Regions from separate parts of the Homo sapiens genome. Here region 1 is linked to region 2. The links are contacts of gene promoters, found by promoter capture Hi-C in blood cells and fetal thymus (Javierre and others, 2016). All regions are on one chromosome and are shown on one strand. Each heading gives the region's core, a stretch centred on a gene start or on the middle of the fragment in contact. The rest is flanking DNA. Distances are from core to core; before and after follow the strand shown.

What was found. Contacts are between HindIII fragments. The CHiCAGO score rates a contact against its expected background, and 5 or more counts as called.
Region 1: a contact is called between a fragment that was not itself captured here and the fragment with the promoter of MED23 in region 2, in 1 of 17 cell types (total CD8 T cells). The highest score is 7.4, in total CD8 T cells.

The regions. Positions count from the first base shown.
Region 1 is chr6:131,129,090-131,131,789 of GRCh38, reverse strand. LOC102723445 (a long non-coding RNA gene) reads left to right here and starts at 1,429. Exons shown (of 4, transcript XR_428022.3): 1 at 1,429-1,775; 2 at 1,877-2,053. It also overlaps a transcript of AKAP7 not described here. The HindIII fragment of the contact is 1,293 bases long and covers 768-2,060 here.
Region 2 is chr6:131,626,808-131,629,507 of GRCh38, reverse strand. MED23 (mediator complex subunit 23) reads left to right here and starts at 1,266. Exons shown (of 29, transcript NM_004830.4): 1 at 1,266-1,497; 2 at 1,836-1,867; 3 at 2,025-2,112. The coding sequence starts at 1,459. RefSeq lists enhancers at 1,277-1,446, 1,577-1,626. The HindIII fragment of the contact is 7,493 bases long and covers 1-2,433 here.

The sequences.
Region 1 (2,700 bases), core at 165-2,664, 500 kb after region 2:
GTGACCTCCTTTGGGGAACAGTCCCTGACCCCACCCTTCTACTTGGGTTAGGTACTCCACCTGAGGGCTTTAATACTCCTTGTGCCCGCTCTGACCATCCCTTTTGCCACATTTTTCTGTTTCATACATTAGACTTTACGCCACTAGAAGGCAAAGACTATGTTTTAAAGTCTTCGTATTCCCAAATGCATAGAGATTTCTCAATGAATAGACATTCAATGAATGAATAAAACTTTTATAAGCATCCAGATCCATTAAGTACTCAGATTTGTCAAAAAATAAAGCAGCACTCCCAGATAAATTTCAAAAAAAAAAAAAAAAAGAAAGAAAGAGAAACAATATCACGGGTAATCTTAATGTCCTACAGTTTTGTTGGCAAACAGCCTGTTGCGTGGCAAGAGTGGCGCCATCTTGAAGCAAAACCTCCATGAAGAGCAATGTCTGGCTCCTGCATGCAAAGGTGTTCTGCAGCAAGGTTTTTAAACCAAGCATCTAGCATAGACAACCCCTCATAAAGATGCTTATCTGACCTCCCCAGTGGTCATAAGTTTGAGATGGGACCAACTGCCCAAGTCTTAGAATACTTTCTGGAGGGTGGATGCGAGGATGTGTAATCTCATGGCCTCTGGAGAGTCACTTTGGTTCATAAGACCCTGTTAAATATTTCTTTCTGAAAAACTGGATTTGTCAGTCACTTTCTTCAGCCTCTCAGCTCCCACAACCCTTCAGGATAGGTTTGCATATACCTGCTCACGCCTGAACAAGCTTCTCCAGCTTAAGGCTAAAAATTAGCCAACATTAACTTTAACATCTAAATGTTTTTTCTTTTTTAAAAATTTTTTAATTTCTATTTTTTTCTTTTTTTCCCTGCAAAGCCAACTGCAAGTATAACATTAACATCTAAATCTTAATAGCTAAATGAACCTACCAACTCATGCCAAGACGCCAGTCCTTTGTGAAATTCCTCCAAAATACTTTTGGGTTTCCAAGTGGTGTCTGGCAAAACTAATCTAATGAATCATTCTAAGCTACCACCTGTTCCCAGCCCTTGCTTCACTGAGTTCCATTTGTCCAATCTTGACTCCGGAAAGTCCTCTGCCCTCGCGCACATCAGCTGCCTGCTAATTCACCTGGCCACAGTGGATTCTCCCAGTCTTCATGGTGACATCTCTTGCAAATGAAAAGAACAAGGTCAGCTGGGCACAGTGGCTCACGCTTGTAATCCCAGCACTTTGGAAGGCCGAAGCGGGTGGACAACCTGAGGTCAGGAGTTTGATACCAGCCTGACCAACATGGCAAAACCCTGTCTCTACTAACAATACAAAATTAGCCAGGCGTGGCGGCACATGCCTGTAATTCCAGCTACTCAGGAGGCTGGAGCAGAGAATCGCTCGAACTCAGGAGGCAGAGGTTGCAGAGGTGCAGTGAGCCAAGATTGTGCCTGGGCAACAAGAGTGAAACTCCATCTCAAAAAAAGAGAAAAGAACAACTTCTCCCTACACATTACACTCTGCTAAGAGTAGAGCAGGTTGAGCTGCATCACAGAAGATTTTTGGGACCTATAAGAATTACAGAATTCCTTGAGATACAGCAAGTTTCTTTACAGACACTGCCCCATTTCCCCCAGAGGGCAAGGTACAATGATTGCTGAAATAATTGGATGGGAAGTGTTCAGGTTCAGATTGCCACACTGTTCCTGAAACATGACCCATTTCTGACTTTCAGGAACTACTACTAAATTGACTCATTCACCCTGCCCGACTCCTTTCTTTATGGTGAGTTCTCTCTTCAGGTCCCTCATTTCTCTTCTGTGATACGGTCCTGACCTAGTGAATTTCTACCAAAACAATTGACTCTGTTTTAATTCTTGCCCTAGGATGTTCCTTGGTCCCCATAGAAACTAAAGTTGCAAATGGTTACAAAAAAGGATGACATCATGCAGTTCTACAAGACACGGCCAAATATCAGTACAAAGCTAACTGGGACCCTTGGTGACCCAAGGTAACTCGGGGTGACATTTCATTTTGCTGGAAGAAGAATATGTGTTTAACATGTAAGCTTTTCAATTAATGTTTGAGTATAATATTTTTAAGAAAGCACTACACCTATTTAATAATAGACTTATTTCAGTAGTCAGACACAGTTGAAGGGCCTGATAATATTTAATAACAGAATGCAACATTTTAAATTATTTTAAATATTTCTAACTACAAATCTAAAATTTTATGTAAGTAACATGTTGTTTTATGATATTTTTAAATTCAGAAAAACTTATGGAATAAAATGTAAAATTATCTATAATTGTATCTTTTTAGACATAGATATACATACACATATAAACACATACTCCTGCAGCATATATTTTATAAAAATGAAATCATGTCACATTATGGCATCATAAGCTACTTTTGTCTTTTACAAGATATTGTGACTAATTTCTCATGTCATTAAGCATTCTTCTATATTTTATATTATTCTTTCAATCATGCATTTTTTTTTTTTTTTGACAGAGTCTTGCTCTGTCACCCAGGCTAGAGTGCAGTGGCATGATCTTGGCTCACTGCAACTTCCGCCTCTCGGGTTCAAGCAATTCTCCTGCCTCAGCCTCCCTGGTAGCTGGGACTACAGTCACCTGACACCACACCTGGCTAATTTTTGTATTTTTAGTAGAGACCAAATTTCACCATGTTGGCTAGGCTG
Region 2 (2,700 bases), core at 17-2,516:
TTCCTCCTTTTCTCCCTGGCACTTTATTAGCATCACTAGTATTGCACATATCACACTCTATTATGGTTTAAAATGTCTATGTCTTCAACTAAGCTAAAGCTCTTTAGAGTAGATACATGGGCCCTAACCTGACTGATGTCCTTCTAGGAAGAGAAAATTACGACACAGACATGTACAAAGGGAAGACCATGTGAAGACACAAGGAGAAGAAGGTCATCTACAAGCCAAGGACAGAGGCCTCTATAGAAACTAACCCTATCAACCTCAACCTCAGACTTCCAGCCTCCAGAATTACAAGAAAAGAAATTTCTGTTGTTTAAGCCACCCAGTCTGTGGTATTTTGTTATGGCAACCCTAGCAAACAATACCCTAAGCCTAACTTTTCAAGTTTTTCTCCAGCAGGAAATCTGAATTATTTCTTTTCAGCTTTTAGTAGCTATTGTGTGGACAACATGGTTGCATGTGCATATTAAAGTTGTTAGAAAACTAAATTTATGCCAGGTCAGACACTTGTATAACAAAACCATGAATGGGGAGTCATCAGCTCATCACTTAGCAGCTACAAAGGAGTAGTTCATGCTTAGCAGTTTGTGGCATTTCACAACCGTCAAAGAAGTGAAAGGCCTTTGGATGTCTATGACTCTCATCAACAATTTTCTTTATGAGGCAAAGAAAGCTGATCATTCAAGACATAACAGATGTTTTAGGGGTTGGTGATGATGGTGGCATATGAAGAAAAACACATACTCTCAACAATATAATAGCAAATAGAATCTAGCAATATATTAAAAAGGATAATATATTATGACCAAGTAGCATTTATACCATAGAAGCAAAATTGGTTTGGCATTCAAAAGTCAATCAATTACATTTGCACTGAGGTTATCATAGCTGAGAAGACACCGTCTCTGTGGCTTCAGCTCCTGGCTGCAGGCCGCTGATGGAGGTCCAGAAGGTCAGCTGCTCACAGACATCAACTTGGTGTCGGCTGCGGCTCCAGCATTTTCCGCAGGCTGCAGCTTCTGGGTTCCAAACTTTTCATTTCTCAGTCTGCAAGCGGGTTAGCCCCGAACAGGAAGCAACTCCTTCTCCAGCCGGGAGGTGGCGGCCTGCGGTCGACGATGCCTCCGGGGTCCTTGGGCTCAAGGTTCCGTTTGGGGGCGCTCTCGTCCGGCTTGCGGGCCGCCCTTCTCCACAGACGGAACCTTCTGGTGGCGCCGCTGGTTTCTGCGGGGTTTGCAAACGGCGCGTACCGGGCCCTTCCCGTCTTCCGTACAGGTTCCTGCTGTTGGCTGGGCTCGGGAGGGAACGCTCCAGGTAAAGCGCTGGGGGAGGAAGCGACGCCGAGGAGCTACGGTTTCCTCCAGAGGTCTCCGCCCCTCTGCCCCTATATTCCCAGAGCTCGAGTCTGATCCGGGCCTTGCCGGGCACCCTGGAAAGGCGGGGGTGATAGTACAGATGGAGACGCAACTGCAGAGCATTTTCGAAGAGGTGGTGGTGAGTGCAGCTGCCGGCCATCCAGGACTACGGCTTGGGGACGGGGAGACGCGGGGGCAGCCGACCAAGGAAACTGGCCTGGGCAACCTCCTCTCACGCCTCCCTTTTTATTCCCTTGTTTTGACACCGAGGTTGTATGCGGGGAAGTTTAGTGATTCTCAAACTGCTGTCAAGTTCATTGTATCCTTTGAAATCGATACAGTGACAGGCCAGACAGGTATTGATAGTTTCAGAGCTGATTAAGGTGACTTGCCCTGTGTTACATTGTAATACTTGGCTAAGGGAGGCGCCTTTTTAAAATTAACATTGTTTACATTTTGTTTTTTTTTTTTTTACAGAAAACGGAAGTTATAGAAGAGGCTTTTCCTGGGTGAGTGTATGCGTGGCAGAGTTTTGTGTTTTTATGTGATTGTGTCTGTCAGATTTTACTTAGTTTCGTGTTGGAAGGTTATAAGATCCACTATTCTGATTGTGTGTAATTACCTTTTTAAAACGAATGACAAATAATGTAATTTTTATTTTTTTAGCATGTTTATGGATACTCCTGAAGATGAGAAAACAAAACTAATTAGCTGTTTGGGGGCCTTCAGACAGTTTTGGGGTGGTCTTTCTCAGGTGAGCGCTTCATTTTTAATACATTCAGCTGATGATTTTTGGCCTCTTCTTTTTTTTTTTTTTTTTCTTTTAACATTTACTTTCATGCTGCTCTTAAGATCTTCCTGAGAAGGGAGAAATAAAATTGTTATCATTTTTTATTCTGGCTTCCATTTGTTTTAATTTGTATATTTCAGTGGAAAACCTGTGTTGAGAAGTCAAGTTGATACTGCACAGTGTGAGATGTTTAAAAAAAAAAACCTCCCCTATGTTAGATTAATTGAGATCATTTTCATCCTATTCGGATTTATTTGGTACACTTGAAAACAGATATGTTAAGCTTTACTTGTCAAGGATACAAATTCCATTTTTCTGCTAAATAAAGGAATTGGCACAGCATTGATACAAAGATGCTACAATAGGAATACCAAGATTCTATAATAAGGATAGGAAAATATTATAGTAAAAATGAGGAGACAAACTGTAAAAGTAACAAAGAACAGCTACCAGAAAATGTATCCGTGAAAAAGACAAAAATGTGTCATCCTCGAAGAGCTCACATTGCAGTAGTGCCTTACCTTCTCATGGTACACTATAGGTAGGGAAATG